Linked DNA regions of Homo sapiens: regions 1, 2 and 3 are each linked to region 4. The links are contacts of gene promoters, found by promoter capture Hi-C in human tissues and cell types (Jung and others, 2019). All regions are on one chromosome and are shown on one strand. Each heading gives the region's core, a stretch centred on a gene start or on the middle of the fragment in contact. The rest is flanking DNA. Distances are from core to core; before and after follow the strand shown.

Region 1 (4,221 bases), core at 672-3,171, 180 kb before region 4:
GGACAGGCTCCCACCCCCTAGGTCCCCTCTCAGCAGACCAGCTGCACCCCACCTGGTCGTCACCCTAATGGACTTCAGCCCCCTGACAGGCCTTGGAAATATTCAAACCAACCAACCACATCTGCCCGTGGGAACCAGGGGGCATCTCACTCTCTTGTCACTACAAAGCCAGCTTCCCACTGGCCCTGCAGGTTCACCCTGCTCTGAGCACAAGCCCAGGTGGCCCCGCATGACATGCAGTGTCCTCCTCCCCACCCGACTGCAGTACGTGTGACTAAGAACTGCAGTGGATGGCATCTGTGCAGCGTCGGCCATCCTGCGTTTGGTTATCTTGTAGTATTGAGGGCAGAGGATCCCTCCTTCGCCAATGGAGTTCATAGGAGGTGATCAGAATACCAGGGCTGGGGAGAAGGGCAAACCCAGCTCCTTGCCACTTGTCACCCTGGAACCCCCCAACACACCTCAGTCAGCAGCTCCAGAAGGTCTCTCCCGGGGTTGGCTCTGAGGACCTCCACCAGTGTCTGGATAAAGTCTGAGCCCTTGTCATCGCGATAGGCCACATAGCCTAGGTCAGGGGATCAGGGCCAGAGCATCAGACCAAGGCCCCAACCCTCTGCCTTCCAATCCCAGGGGTCCTATTGTTGGTGGAAAGTGGGGTACAAGGAGGCAGGACCCAGGAATCAGGCAAGAGAACAGGGCAGGGAGCAGGGACTTCTTGCATCTGGAACAAGTTGTTGCTAGGTATTTGCAGAGGTGAGCCTATGGAGAGATTCACTACTGAACAAACATTTACTGTGCACCTACTATGTGCCAGACACTGAGCAGGGCCTTGGGGCAGGCAGGTCTACCCTGGCCTCGTGGAACTCACAGCCTAGAGGAAACCTGCACACACAGTGGTTGGCACAGCTGCGCCTCACAGCACTCACCATCACTGCTGTTACTACACATCCTAACCCATGTAGGGAACATGGCTGGACCACAGCTGGGCTGGCATCTCTGTGCCCCAACCCTAAGCCCTAGCTGCCCCTAAGGCTACTCCAGATCTTAGGCCAGGAAGCTGGGCCCTGTGTAACCACAGGCTCCCGATGACCCATCTCCTTACCCTCTGCGGCTGAGTAGACCGTCAGGATGTCTGCTTGGTCAGAGCTCCCTGGAGGGGTGCCCCTGCAGGAGCTGCCTGCAAGAGGAATCAATTCCAGTGATCAACATCGTGGAACTCCATCAGCCCCGGGAGCTCCCCATCTGTGGCTTAAGGGCAGCCCAGGGAGGTGGAAAGAGTGCAGGGCAGGAATGACAGACGGAAGTTCAAAGCTCGGCCCAGCCACTTAACAGCTGTGACCTCAGAAAAGCTATTTGACCTTACCGACTCCAGGGTTCTTGCCAGGCTCCAACAGGGGAAGAAGCTCCCACTTCCCAAAGGCCCTTGCGGTTTAGGAAGATTTTTTTTCTTCCCATTGTCTTGGCAAACAGAGGATGCAGGTGGCAGCCATACCCCAGCTTAGAGCCCTGGAGATGCTCTCTGGACGGTCCCCACAACCAGCCCTGCCCAAGCCCAGGCCCTGGAAGGAAGGCAGAACCCACCTTGGGCCTCAGCGTAGATCTGCAGGACATCTGCATGGGAGGGGACAGATGGAGGTGCCCGCAGCCAGCTCCAGTACCAGGGGAGAGCTGTGGGCCCCACACCAGCATCCCTGTTTCCTGAAGAGGGTGGGGAGAGGCAGATAGTCTCACTCCGGGGATACCTGGGGGTGCTCAGGGGTCTAGTGTGAATGTGGGGTCAAGGTGAGAACCCAACTCCAGAGCTCCAGGGCAGGCTTGCCAGACTGGAGACATTCAGAGCGCTGAATGACAGGTGTTGAGAGTTAAGGGTTCAAGGTCGTGGACTTGACCTCTAGGAGAGGACAGGAGAGGGGGCAGGGAAGGGCAGGTACCCGGGCTCCCTGGAGAAGGTAGACAGTGAGTCCCGGGGGCTGAAGCTTGGCCGAGGAAAGTGAGGGCAGTAGGAGGCCGGGCCGCTCACCCCCACGGCAGGCCTGCAACAGGAAGATCTTGGGGCGGCCCTGCAGCACCTGGCAGCGGCTCAGCTCCTGCATGAGTGCCTCGGGCTGCACCTCTTGCCCGTCAGCCCCCAGCAGCTGACCCCGTGGTCCCCCATGGGCCATCAGGGCCACAAGGGCACAGCTCACAGGGCCCCTGCAGGTGTCCAGTTGCTCCCGGAACTGGGCCAGCTCCTCCTGGAAAGCCTGGGGTGGGAACAATGTTGAGGCCTGGGCCAAAGCCACCGCCTCCCCAGCCACTGGCTGCCCTCTGTGAGGCTGACAAGGTTTCCCAGACCCTGCCCCACCTGGCCTCCCACCGCCTGCCACTCACAGGTCCAGGGAGGAAGCCCTCTTTTTTTTTTTTTTTTTTTTTGGGAAGGAGTCTTGCTCTGTCACCCAGGCTGGAGTGCAGTGGCGCGATCTCGGCTCACTGCTATCTCTGCCTCCTGGGTTCAAGCGATTCTCCTGCCTCAGCCTCCTGAGTAGCTGGGAATACAGGTACATGCCACCACACCCGGCTAATTTTTTGTATTTTTAGTAGAGATGAGGTTTCGCTGTGTTAGCCAGAATGGTCTCGATCTCCTGACGTCGTGATCCGCTTGTCTCGGCCTCCCAAAGTGCTGGGATTACAGGCGTGAGCCACTGTGCCCGGCCTGTTTTTGTTTTTTGAGACAGAGTCTTGCTCTGTCGCCCAGGCTGGAGTGCAGTGGCACAATCTCAGCTCACTGCAACCTCGGCCTCCTGGGTTCAAGCCATTCTCCTGCCTCAGCCTCCCAAGTAGCTGGGATTACAGGCACGCACCACCATGCCCTACTAATTTTGTCTATATAGTAGAGACGAGGTTTCACCATGGTAGTCAGGCTGGTCTCAAACTCCTAATCTCAAGTGATCCACCCGTCTCAGCCTCCTAAAGCGTTGGGATTACAGGCGTGAGCCACTGCACCCGGCCAGAAGCCCTTTTCTAACTCCCTCCTGCAAGGCCTTGGCATGGCCTCTTTAGAGGTGACATAGAGACCCAGCTTCCTGGAGCCAGTTCTCCTCCTGCCCTCGTGGGGAAGCCGCACCAAGAAGTTGAGAGGTGTGAGGAGAGTGGAGTGGGCTGCTGGGAGCCAAGAGGGAAACCAAGACTTGGAGCTAAAGCTTTGAGCTGGGGAGGGGGCGGGGGGGCCAGAGAACCAGCCAGTGAGGAAGGCCTCGGGGACCCTGGAGACCAGGCTTCCAGAGGCAGGGAAGTGACGGGCCAGATGCAGGCAACAGGGAGCACAGAGGTTAGACTTGTGGTGCACTTCCTGCCAGTGATGGAGAGAGGCCCCAGGTTTCTAGGGAGGGGTGGTCTTCCTTCAGAGCACCAGTGGAAGTTCTCGGCTTCCCCTCACCTGGGCTGTAGGGTCCGTTCTCACGGTGGTCTCAAAGCCCAGGGCCCAGCACAGGCCCCCCAGCGCCTCCACGTCATGCTGGGCCCCAGGCCGGCCTTGGATCACAGCCAGGAGGAGGGCAGCCCTGGCCTTGGACAGGTCATACTGTGTGCTGGGACCGGGGGCCGGCTGCAGAGAGGGTTAAGACACATCTAAAGTGGCCTGAGAGGACTCCAGCTCCTGGCCTCCCCGGCCGGGGCCCCCCCTAAGCTTCTGTCCCACTGGAAACTGTGGCCATGTGATTGGATCCCTGCCCTGCCCCCCTCACCTCAGGCCTCCAGGGCTCCACGCCTCCCAGGCACAGTGCCCCCCTCAAGGAGCTCCGAAGGACGGGGCAGCAGGTGCCCCCTGCGGACTCTTCAGCCACCCTGCGGAAGAGCTGGGGATGGGGCCGAGAAAAGACTCAGCCAGGCTTGTGGCTTCTATAGTCTCTTCAGGGTCACCTGCCAGAATGCAGACAGGAGGAGGCCAGCAAAGGACAGACAGGCAGGATGGCCTCAAGCAGGGCCCAGGCTCCAGTTCAGGCTCAAGGTTATGGACTTCCCTGGGCATGGATGGCCTCGAGTGGACAGTGGCCACACCATTAACCCCTGCCCCGGGATCAGTGCGCAGAGAGGTGGGGATGTTCCCTAGAGCGGGGCTGGGCCTGTCGGGAAGACTCACGGGGTGGGCACTACCCTGCTGGGCGATCTGTGGAGGAGAGCTGGGGCCCCCTCATCCCCAGGGCTGCCCAGGGGCCACCCAACTACACAGTGAGACCTTCAGCC
Region 2 (3,819 bases), core at 98-2,597, 150 kb after region 4:
GTTGCTGCTACTTGCTAACACCCAGGGTCCCCTGCAGAAATGAAGGAGCCCAGACAGACCACAACCAAAGTCCTAGGACCTGCTCCTGCAGCAGAAGGGTGGGGTCTTGTCACCTCCCAGAGCTGTCCCAAGGAGCCTTGCATTGAGCCAAGGCCTCCAGGGGCACCCCCATGCAGCCCAAGGAGGAATGGGGAGATGCACCACGCCAATGTGGGATTGGCAGGATGGAGTCCACACAGCGGCCCGGGGGTGCTGGCCTTGGCTCAGTGCCCCACACTGTACCGCACCGTCCACCAGGAGGGGGGATGAGGGTGGGATGGTCAGTGGTGAACTTTGGGTTGAAAGAAAAAGGGAGAGAATACCCAAAAGTGTGTGGAAATGTTCTGGAAGAACATTCTGGAATAACCTGAACAGGGTTCCCTCCAGGAGACCCAAAGGGAACTGGAGTGGGTGTAACCGGCTGCAGCACAGCCTGGGGCTCAGGAGAACACCAGGCCGCATCCACGCACAACTTTCACGCCCAAGTCTGGCATCAGACCAGAGGTAAAGTTCGGTGGCACTCCCTCCAGCCCTGTTCCTGCCCGTCCCCGCACCCCTCCGTTCGCACCCCCACTCACGTTTCAAAGCAGTGCGCCGCCGTGAGTGCCCAGCGGTGGCTGAGCAGGCTCACTCCGCATACGTGGGAATCCCACAGGCGCAGGCTCCCCTGCCACGGCCAACGCCCGAGTTCGGCGTCCTCTCCACCCACGATGCGCGACGTGATGACCCGTCGGCCGCATGGTCCTCGGATGGTCAGAGGAACTGCTGAGCCGCGGGAGGCAGCCCCCCAAGCCCGACCTCTCCCTTTCTCCCCTTCAACCCCGTCCGGGAAAGCACGTTTTTGCCCACCCAGGGTCCCCTCGCGTGTGTGCAGCAGGAAGTAGGTGACACTGGAGATCCTCCCACGTGCTCTGCAGGGCCCGCCCATCCCCCTCCAGCGTCCGTTAGTTACTTTCCACGCCAACAGAGTTCTCGATCCCGGGGGCGGGGGCGAGAGAGCAGTAAAGGCCCCCCTCTACCCCCTCACCGCCCCCCGTCCACCTCGGCCCAACGGCCCTGGCAGGAATCGCGCGTCCTGGGCGCCCTACCTGATAACGGCGCCGCCTCCTGCGACTCTGCGGGAGACAAGAAGTGACTCCCCGCGGCCTCCACCTCCCGTCCTCCCCACCGCTCCCCCGCCTCCCCATCCCGCCAGCAGCGCCCCGAGCTCACCCGGCTTCCTGAGTCCAGCCCGAGCCAGCAGCAGCGCCAGCAGCAGCGCCCCGCGCGCGCCCATGGCCTCCTCTCCCGCGGCCTGACGCCCCCTCTGCCTCCTCTCGCGCCGGGCCCGGGGCGCCCCCTGGGGGCGGGGCGGGGTGGGAGCTCTGCCCTCTACTCCCAGCTTCACCCTCCTGGGCCCAAGGGCTGTTTGGGGCCTCTCATGCCTGGCAGCGCCCTGGCTTTCAGCCCCTAGGGGCGGGTCTTCAACCACACTTCTTGATGTGGCCCAGACCCGGTGGACCCCACAGTCCCTTTCTTGTCTGCAGCCCAGGGGTCCCGGCTGCCCTCTTGGTGACCCCGTCCTCCACCTACAACCTCCTCCAGCACCAAGGGCCTGGCCCTGAGCCAGGAGTCCCCTTAAAGCCTGGGGACCCCCTGAAGGCCGGGTGGGGCCTAGAGGCATGGCTGCTCCTTCATGGGACCTTCTTGGGAAAACAGTGGTCCTCGGCCCGTTCCACCCAGAATGGGGATCTCCCCAAGTCTCTGCCCAGGCTGTCCCCACTGCGGGCTCCCGCTGGGCTCTCTTCACTTCTCTGGAACAATTTTTTTTTTTTTTGAGATGGAGTTTCGCTCTTGTCGCCCAGGCTGGAGTGCATTGGCGTGATCCCAGCTCACTGCAACCTCCACCTCCTGGGTTCAAGCGATTCTCCTGCCTCAGCCTCCCAAGTAGCTGGGGTTACAGGCGCGCGCCAGCACACCTGGCTCATTTTTGTATTTTTAGTACAGACGGGGTTTCGCCATGTTAACCAGGCTGGTCTCCAACTCCTGACCTCAGGTAATCCGCCCACCTCGGCCTCTCAAAGTGCTGGGATTACAGGCATGAGCCACCGCGCCCAGCTGCAATTCCACTTCTGAGCATACACCCAAAAGAACTGAAAGGAAGGTCTTCAAGAGATATTTGTTTTTGGTTTTTTGGGGGGATTTAGTTTTGTTTGTTTTTGAGATGGAGTCTTGCTCCATCGCTCAGGCTGGAGTGCAGTGGTGCGATCTTGGCTCACTGCAACATCTGCCTCCTGGGTTCAAGTGATTCTCCTGTCTCAGCCTCCAGAGTAGCTGGGATTAGAGGCACCTGCCACCATGCTTAGCTAATTTTTGTATTTTTAGTAGAGATGGGGTTTCGCCATGTTGGCCAGGCTGGTCTTGAACTTCTGACCTCAGGTGATCTGCCCTCTGCGGCCTCCCAAAGTGCCAGGGTGAAGGTGTGAGCCACCCCACCCAGCCTTCAAGAGATATTTGTATACCCATGTTCATAGCAGGATTATTCACAGTAGCTGACATGAAAGCAACCCAAGAATCCATTGACCACTGAACAGATCAGTGAAAATGGGAATGTACAACCAGAACCTGGGAATCCCGCCTCCCTCAACTTGAAACTTGGGAATAGCGTATTCTACTTTCAACACTTGCACTAGTGGAAGGTTAATTACATGAAAGATTAGGCAAAATGTGTGGTTAGGCGTTCTGGTTTTCCAATAAAAGTATTAAGTTTCTTTGGGGAAAGTACAGATAAAATGCTTAGCACAGAGCATGGTACCAACGGGAACTCAATGAGGGCGCAGCGGGTGTGTGGGAGCTTCGGGTTTCAGGAGCACAAGGCTGCGGTGCCTTCCCTCAGGGCCTCCTTCCCCAGCAGCAGCTGCTCAAGGACAAGTCACATGCACAGCCTGGCCTTGGCCTGCTGGGTTGGGGCAAAGGTCCCTGGGCTTCTGATCCTGCCCCTCTCCCAGCCAGCAGGACGTTCCCTCTGGTTCCTGAGTCCCAGGGATCCGCTGAGGCCCCTAGGAGGTGTCAGCTCCTGGTTTTGCCCAGGGTCTCAGTCAGGCCAGTCCTACCCGGAGATCTGAGCCAGGGACTCAGGTTCTTGCCTCCAGTGAGGCTGGGGGCTTCCCGCAGAGGCCAAGCCTGGCCCGGGGGCTGCAGGGAGGCCCTGGCTGCTGCATGGGCTGCAGATGGAGACTCTCTTGTCTGCTGTGCCTCAGGCTGCAGAGTCACAGAGGGGTCTTCCCAAGCCCCACACCTGGAGGGCAGGGAGGACAGGGACTTGTGGTCCTAACCCGACTCCTGACACATAAGGGCCAGCCGGCCCGGAGCCACCTCTGCGGGCAGGAGAAGGCCTCATTGTTCCCTTCTCCTGGCAGAATGAGGACTGGGGCGTGCCCGGGGCAGGAAATAAATGCTCAGTAAATCCCTCTCTTGGGAGCCCTGATCCCAAGGGACAAAGGGCCTGTGTTGAGTCTCCCTGGGCACGGGCTCGGGGCCAGCACTTGGGCCATGGCAGATGGAGGGTGGGAGGAGGGTGCCTCCCACCAGGTGGGCTTCTTCCCCAGGTCAGGCATGCAGGTGAGGAGCGTCCTCGTGTGTGCATGCCCCCTGCGTGCAGGAGAGGCTGGGCGGGTGTGTGTGTCTGGGTGTATGTGTGTGCATGCATCTTCAAGTGCACGTGTGTGAACGACCATGTGTGATCCCCGTTCTCGTGCCATCTGAACATCCCCTCCAGTGTGCATTTGGGTGAGTCCTGGC
Region 3 (3,844 bases), core at 340-2,839, 230 kb after region 4:
ACGGGTGGGGTTGGATGGAAGAGTACCAGGTGGGCCTAGGATGGATGGAGGAGGCTGTGTCCCCAGCTACAGGCCTGGAGATGTTACGGGACCCAACAGGCCCCCAGCCTCCATCCCCGTGCTGGGTTCTCAGGTTTAGTGGGGGCAGTGCCTGGGGACTCAGAGGGACCCTGACCCCAGAGCTTGGAGACCCCTCTGGAGCATGCCTGGCTCTCACTGTGAGGCCCGCACCAGCCAGTCCTGCTCTGAGAGCCTCCTCGTGTCCCCCTGGCTTGTCCTGCCAGCCTGGGGGTGGAGGGTGTGGTCCCCATGGCTTGTGGGAGGGAGGGCCCAGAGGGGCAAAGTCACCACCCTGAGGCCACCAGGAGATCCCTACAGAGGGCAGAGTGGGTTGGGGCCTGCCTTAGGGTCTGTTCCCCTTGAGCTCGGTGGGACAGGGCCATCTCGAGGGTCCCAGTGTTTTTTTCTGGTCCCTGCCCCAGTGTTTAATGGGACACAGCCCCTCACATCCCCAGTCTGTGGGGGGCAGAGGTCATGGGTCACTGACATCCCCTGGCTCATTCCTCCCACATTCACCCAACAGACCCCTTATCCTCCATCCCCCTGCTGAGACTGGGGATTGGCTCAGGGCCTGTTCTCCCCACTGAGTTTGGTGGGATGGGGCCATCTTGAGGGTCTGGGTGTTTTTCTCAGGTGGGACCTAGATCCCCACAGTCCCTCACGTGCCCAATCTGTGGGGTGGGCATGGGGTCACCAAGGTCACCTGGTTCATTCTTCCCCCATCCAGATTCCGTCTCTAGAGCCTTTGAGGTCACTCCTGACGCTGACATGGCTGTGAAGAGCTGGGTGCCAGGCATTACTGCCTCCAAGGTTGCTTTGCGAGGAATAGGTGGGGCATCAGGAAGAAGCCAGTTGCAGGTCAGGAGAGAGCACTGCCTCAGCTGGGGAGGGCCTGGCTGGGGGTCCCTAGGGCAGTGCAGGGCCCGAGAGTTAGAGGGAGGCCCAGGATGGGTGTGGGAGGCTGGGGTCAAGGCTAGGACTGGAGCTCGGCTCTCTAAGACCCTGAGGCCCCCTCCCTCCTTTTGTTGCCTTTTGTCGCCCTCCTGCAGGCAAGGCCTCTGCTGATGCTGCTTTTTTCTCCTGTACCCATCCATGGGAGGGAGCTGTGAGATGGCCTGGCAGAACCCGCTCTTGGACCCCACAGAATGAGAGGCTCACCCTGCACAGGAACATCCTGGGGCAGCAGGCTCAGCACATTTTAAATTTTGAGTATGAACAAAGTAAACTTCAGGGTTAAAAAAAAACACAAAAATTTGTCGAGCACACAATGATTGAGTGCCTATGGTATACCTGACGCTTTGCCATATCCAGGCTTCAAACCTCAGGGTTCTGGGTCCTTTGAGGCCCAGCTCCAACCCCACCTCACCCAAGCACTCTCCACCCCCACCACGTAACCTTACCAGGGCTGCCCAGCTTGGGTCATCTCAGACCACTTGGGCCCCTCAGGCCTCACGCCCTGAGCCCCTCAGCCTGGAAACCAGCCTGGACACTATGGGGGCCCCTGAGGTTTCCACCTCCTGCTGCCCTTGGCCTGAAAGGGGTCAGTGGGACCCCGCCTTGGGCCTCTGGGAGGCTGTACCTTTGCTTCTGCCTCATCCTGTTCTCCAGGGCCCTGTCCCCTTCTTGCTGGGCCCTCCCGGGATGCCCCCCAGTCACTGACCTCACTGGCCTAAGTCTCGCCTCCTCCAGGAAGCCTTCCAGACTGATGGCTCCCAGGCACTGAGCATCCCCCAACCTTGCTGTGAATGGTGGATGCCCACCATGGGCCCTCGGAAGCCAGGGAAGCCTGGGTCTCCTTGCAGGGGCCGCCACAGTTTTTCAGCCACTGCGATTCCACCCAGGTAAATCCCTTTCCTGCTTGTGTTTCCCAAGAATAACTGTGGAACGTGCTGGAAATGCAACATCCTGAGATAGGGAGAACAGCCTGAAGCAGCCAGGGCCTAGTTCCTATGCTCTGAGAGAAGGGAACGTCATGAGTTAGGTAGGGGCCCCCAAAGAAGAAAGCGAGGCAAAAATCCCTGTAAGTAGAGCTCGCCTGGGCCAAGGTGAAGACAACCACCGGGGAGACTCAGAATTGGAATATGAGCTCCGTTCAGCCTTTGTAACAGGCTTTTTTTTTTTTTTTTGAGATGGAATCTCCCTCTGTCTCCCCAGGCTGGAGTGCAGTGGTGGGATCTGGGCTCACTGCAACCTCCGCCTCCCGGGTTCAAGCGATTCTCCTGCCTCAGCCCCCCCGAGTAGCTGGGATTATAGGCACCCACCACCACGCCTGACTAATTTTTTTGTATTTTTAGTAGAGACGGGGTTTCACCATGCTGGCCAGGCTGGTCTGGAACTCCTGACTTCAAGTAATCCGCCTCCCTCGGCCTCCCAAAATGCTAGGATTACAGGCGTGAGCCACCGTGCCTGGCCACAAGCAGGCTTTTAAAGGCAAACGGGCTGGGTGCAGTGGTTCATGTCTGTAATCCCAGCATTTCGGGAGGCTGAGGCAGGTGGATCATCTGAGCTCAGGAATTTGAGACCAGCCTGGCCAACATGGTGAAACCCCATCTCTACCAAAAATACAAAAAATTAGCTGGGCATGGTGGTGCGTGCCTGTAGACCCAGCTACTCAGGAGGATGAGGCCAGAGGATCACTTGAGCCTGGGAGGTGGAGGTTGCAGTGAGCCAAGATCACACCACTGCACTCCAGCCCGGGCAAGAGAGCAAGACTCCGTCTCAAAAAAAAAAAAGTTTATTTGAAAAAATTTAAAAAATAAGAAAGTTTATTTGAGGCCAGGTGTGGTGGCACAGACCTGTAATCCTAGCACTTTGGAATGCTGAGGTGGGAGGATCACTTGAGTTTCAGAGTTTGGAACCAGCCTGGGCAACAGAGTGAGACCTTATCTCTATTTATTAAAAATTTTTTAAAAAGAAAAAAAGTTTATTTGAGCATGTATTGCTCAATGAACCCTCCTATCACAAGACTGTGGGTGACTAGCACTCTCAGGGAGAGCCAGGGGGACACTTACCAAGCATTTGCAGAAGCAAACCCAGGAAAACAACTCGACGGTTAGAGTGGAAAGTCTCTCGTTAGGGCTGGTGGTTTCAGGCTGGCGCCATTTCTGGATTAACTGTGTGGTTCCCATAGGGCATGGTTTCTTCATGGAGAAATTGAAGGACTGGAGCCACCCCAGCCCAAGAACTTCCCAAAGAGGATTTTTACAGACAGTGTTGTCCTTCTAGTCAGCCTGTCCGTGATGAGAGATTGGCCAAAACGTAGGCATGAGCACCACTCTGTCACCATCGTGGACGGGTGGTGGTTGTCTCATTCAGGGACTTGAGGTCACAGCGTGAGGCTCTTTGAGGAGAGATTTCTTTTATTGTTCATCTCATTGTGGTTTCTTTTTCTTTTTTTTTTTTTTTTTTTTATTTTTTGAGATGGAGTTTTGCTCTTGATGCCCAGGCTGGAGTGCAATGGCGTGATCTCAGCTCACCACAACCTCTGCCTCCTGGGTTCAAGCGATTCTCCTGCCTCAGCCTCCTGAGTAGCTGGGATTACAGGCGTGTGCCACCACGCCCAGGTAATTTTTGTATTTTTAGTAGAGACGAGGTTTCACGATGTTGGTCAGGCTGGTCTCGAACTCCTCACCTCATGATCTGCCCACCTCAGCCTCCCAAAGTGCTGTGATTACAGGCGTGAGCCACCGCTCCCGGCCTCACTGTGGTTCTAATGACACACGATCTTGGCTTACTGCAACCTCCGCCTCCTGGGTTCCAGCAATTCTCCTGCCCCAGACTCCTG
Region 4 (3,840 bases), core at 929-3,428:
TACCTGGTACCCCTTCATGCGGCAGAAGCGTAGGCACACCTGGACCGTGAGCTTCGTGGAGGTGCCGCTGGGGCCGCTGAGGGCTGGGGGTGCCCCTGAGTCCACAAAGCATCCCAGGTAGCCTGGCACTGAGGGGGCAGAGTCAGACTTCCGTGACTCCGAAAACAACCCTCCTCCCAGATGCAGCAGCGTTCCCACCTCTGTCCAGCCGCGCTACTCACTGTGACAGGAGGGGATGTCGCAGTAGCGCCAGTAGATGCCCTCCTCTGTCTCAGCCACGTAGCACCACGGCTGCACGTCACCGTCTGGGTTACTGCGGGTGGGAGGGAGGTGGTGGGGCTCCCACCACCCCAAGAATAGCAAACCCAGGCCCGGCCCCGCAGCCTATGCTCAAAGTGGCCTTCAAGGCTCTGTGCCTGTGAGCGGCTGTGCTGCCTGCTGTACACCCACAAATTCCAGTTTTGTCTACGCAGAACTCTGCCTGATGAAGGAACTGGACGTCGACTTCCGAGTGGACAGCGGGAAGTCATTAAAGGGGACTTGAGAGCTGTTTTTAGGCTTCAGCTGTTGCTAGACTTGACTCCATATATGAGGACTTTGAGGCCATCTGTATTCTTCACCCCCACCCGGCATGGGCCTCAGCCACTTCCGTCCCTCAAACCCCACTTTTTTTTTTTTTTTTTGAGACGAGTCTCGCTCTGTCACCCAGGCTAGAGTGCATTGGCGCGATCTCTGCTCACTGCAAGCTCCGCCTCCCGGGTTCAAGCGATTCTCCTGCCTCAGCCTCCTGAGTAGCTGGGATTACAGGCGCCCGCCACCATGCCCCGCTAATTTTTTGTATTTTTAGTAGAAATGGGGTTTCACCATGGTAGCCAGGCTGGTCTCGAACTCCTGACCTCAGATGATCCGCCTGCCTTGGCCTCCCAAAGTGCTGGGATTACAGGCTGAGCCACCGCGCCTGGCCTCCAACCCCACTTAAAAGCAGAAGTGAGCTCCTGAGCTTTGCGGCTCTCCTCCCGCTGGGTCCATCCTGCCTCAGACCGTAGCTGTGGCTCTGAACCCCAAAATAAGTTGTATGACAAGAGCCCCACTCTGACAAGGCCCCGCCCATTCGGCCCCCGCTCTGACCAGGCCCCGCCCATACGGGTCCTTTGAGTGCCCAGGTCCGTTTCTCTCCTGGCCCTGAACTGGAGCTCTGCAGAAATTGTTCACCTGAGGAGGATCCCTTTTGCGCCAGGGTTCCGCGCGCCCCGCCCCGCCCCGCCCCGCCCCTCATTCTGGCCCCGCCCCCAGGTTCTCCAGGAGGCTGGGCTGCCAGTCCACGGCAGACCTCCACCCCGCCCGCACGGAGGCCCCGCTTCGGGCCATCCCTGCAATGGTGAGCCCAGCCTCGCCCCCAGCGCAGGCCCCGCCCCTCACCGGCAGAAGTTGTGCGCGCCCAGCCCCCAGCGGCCGTGGGGGTCGCTGGCGCTGCTGTAGCTGTGTTGCTGCGTCTGGTCCCAGAAGAGGCACGGGCGGCCCGCCCCGCGCGGGCCAGTGCGGTTCTGGTGGCCGCGGTAGTCAGCCCCATTCACCTGGAAGCATTCGGACAGGCCTGCACGGCAAAGGCAGGGCCTGGGGAGGTCCGGACCCACGCCGGGCATCCTCGCGCCCCTACGCCACCTCCCGCCTGGGTCCCCAGCCAGCGACCCCGCACCCGCCCCTGCAGGAGCCCTCGGGCTGCTCAGCTGCTCCGGCCACCTGCTCTGTCCCCCTCCCTAGCCTTGGGGGCCTGGCCCTGGGGGCGGAGGCCGAGGAAGGGGTGGTGAACACGGCCCGACAGCCGTGCGGGGACTTACCTGGACTGTGCAGGCTCCCAGCCGAGGCCCCACGCGGCTGCAGCAGCGGGAGGAAGAGGAGAAAGAGGAAGCCCTGCAGGGCTTGTGTCCCCATCGCTCTCAACCAAGGATAGGTCACCCTCGCCCGGACACGGCCCGGGCTGCCCCCGGGGTCGCTTCGGGGTCTCCCAGGAGACCTAGGGGGCGTTGTCCTCTGACAGTCTCCCCTCGTCCGACTCTGAGCCGCGCTTTCCGTCTGGGGTGGGTAAATCTCTCCTGGGGGTCTTTGCCTCCCAGGGCCTCTGCCCCTAGAGGCGTCTCTCTGTCCCTGTCCCTACCCGGGTCTCTCCGGGGGGAATCTGGCCGGGGGCGTTCTCAGTCTCTGTCTCAGCGAGCTCTGGGCGGTGCCTCAGCCTCTACGCCCGCCCCCTCCCACTGAGCCTAGCTCTCGGCGTCTCCCTCGCCCAGGTCTCCAACGGGCTGACTCCTGCCCGCCTCGCATCCCTCCGTGGGTCCCTCCCCCTGGGTCTCTCCCTCCCCCCATGGGAGGCCGGGAAGCCCCGCCCAGCACTGGAGCGGAGGCAGCAGGTCCAGACGCCTCCCACGCCCGTTCCCCCGACCCCGGGCGTCCAGCGCTTCCCGGCCCCCTCTCCCTCAGGTCGGTGCCGGTTCAAGTGGGAAGGTGTGGAGGGGGACAGGCGGGGCAAGCGGACGGAAGGCCCTTAAAATGGGAGATACAGAACCCCCTCACGTGGTCGCACGCGCCCCAGGACACCCGGAATGTCCGAGTTACAAGCGCCCTCCTCCCAGTGCACGCACGCGCTCGCACTCTCTCCCATTCATTGCCAGGCGCTCACGCGCACACTTTCTTCGGATCCGCACGCCCCTCCCGCCCCTGGTCCAGATGCCGCTGGCCTGACGGAGGAAGCTCCACTCCCTGCCCCCGCGCCCACGAGACAGGCGGGAGTCGTGGACGCTCAGTCCGGGACAGGCAGGGGCAGCTGGTGTCTGGGGAGAAAGGCAGCTGCGCCCCAGGTCCCAGTCTGTCCCCTCCTCCTCCCCCTGCCCCGCCCTTCCCTGGGACCCCCAGCCCAGACTCTCCCGAGCCTTCACACTGCAGTGGAATTCCCCCAGCCGTGCCCCCCACCTGGCGGGGGAGGGGGAGGGGAGCAGGCCCAGGCAGGCGTGGGGGGAAATTCCCCGCCCCCTCCCCCTGGGCCCGACTCCTCCGAGTCCTCTGATCTCCCAGCGCCACCCGCCCGCTGCCCCCAGGGCTTGGGGGGAGGCCAGCGCAGGTGCGTGGGAGGGCGGAGGCGGGGGCCGGGGGAAGGAACTGGTGGGGGCCGGGCGCCCAGAGCGGCCCCGCCCCGCCCAGACCTCTTTGCCCCTCAGTCCAGCCTGCCCAGCCCGCACCAGGCCCTCGCCAAGCTGTCGAGCCCAGGCCGACCAGTCCCCGCCCTGCAGCCCCCACACCGTCTCTGCCCCGGTGTCGATGGAGAAGAAAGATGGGGTTCAGGGAGGTTCTGTCAGGCCCAGGCACCCACTGCGGTGCTGGGACCCGCGAGGATCTTCCAGCTGGCGCCTCACGCGAGTGTGCTCTGGAGGAGGGGCGTGGAGCCGAGGTGGGGGCATTTGAAGGAGATGGACTTGCTGAGACTCTAGGCCAGGGTCCTGGTCGCCTCCTCCGGGAGCCCTCTCAGAGGCCAGGCTGGCCCGGCTCACTGAGCCCTGAGCTGGGGCCTCCAGCACCCACGGGCTCCCTGGAACCCAACTGCGCTTCCCGACGAGGGAGCATCCGGGACCACCTGTCTGCCCGGTTTCTCTTGGCGGGGGCTCAGTGAAGTCCTCCCGGGCTCCAGTCCACAGAGGATGTCCTAGGGGCAGGCCTGCACAATGGCGGTGCGTGGGGAGCTTCACCCCCACAGCCACAGCCATCTGAGGATGGGGCAAGGTGGCGACAGGGACAATTAAGGACTCTGTGCGGAAAGGGGGCCGGCTTGGGACGCTGGTGGAGGAATCAGCC

Evidence for each region. The method cuts DNA at HindIII sites, captures the fragments that hold promoters and counts their contacts. A contact is called where the count stands out against the background at its distance.
Region 1: a contact is called between a fragment that was not itself captured here and the fragment with the promoter of KREMEN2 in region 4, in 1 of the 25 tissues and cell types used here (spleen).
Region 2: a contact is called between the fragment with the promoter of PRSS21 here and the fragment with the promoter of KREMEN2 in region 4, in 2 of the 25 tissues and cell types used here (lymphoblastoid cells and mesenchymal stem cells).
Region 3: a contact is called between a fragment that was not itself captured here and the fragment with the promoter of KREMEN2 in region 4, in 1 of the 25 tissues and cell types used here (dorsolateral prefrontal cortex).

Annotation. Positions count from the first base shown.
Region 1 is chr16:3,145,280-3,149,500 of GRCh38, reverse strand. It overlaps the pseudogene CASP16P. Among named protein-coding and RNA genes, the nearest start is that of TRR-CCG1-3, 3.3 kb to the left of the region's middle. The HindIII fragment of the contact is 3,003 bases long and covers 420-3,422 here.
Region 2 is chr16:2,814,765-2,818,583 of GRCh38, reverse strand. PRSS21 (serine protease 21) reads right to left here and starts at 1,347. Exons shown (of 6, transcript NM_006799.4): 1 at 1,252-1,347; 2 at 1,128-1,154; 3 at 618-783. The coding sequence starts at 1,315. RefSeq lists silencers at 1,030-1,089, 1,200-1,479 and an enhancer at 3,145-3,645. The HindIII fragment of the contact is 10,567 bases long and covers 1-2,995 here.
Region 3 is chr16:2,734,554-2,738,397 of GRCh38, reverse strand. It overlaps SRRM2-AS1 (SRRM2 antisense RNA 1), which reads left to right. Exons shown (of 6, transcript NR_027275.1): 5 at 788-918; 6 at 1,110-1,322. Among named protein-coding and RNA genes, the nearest start is that of SRRM2-AS1, 16 kb to the left of the region's middle. The HindIII fragment of the contact is 8,627 bases long and covers 1-3,844 here.
Region 4 is chr16:2,962,613-2,966,452 of GRCh38, reverse strand. It overlaps KREMEN2 (kringle containing transmembrane protein 2), which reads right to left and starts at 2,178. Exons shown (of 9, transcript NM_172229.3): 1 at 1,839-2,178; 2 at 1,420-1,594; 3 at 222-313; 4 at 4-128. The coding sequence starts at 1,932. RefSeq lists enhancers at 680-799, 402-1,361, 3,330-3,459, 2,946-3,840 and silencers at 1,160-1,529, 1,600-1,849, 2,380-2,459, 3,010-3,139, 3,170-3,249. The HindIII fragment of the contact is 31,540 bases long and covers 1-3,840 here.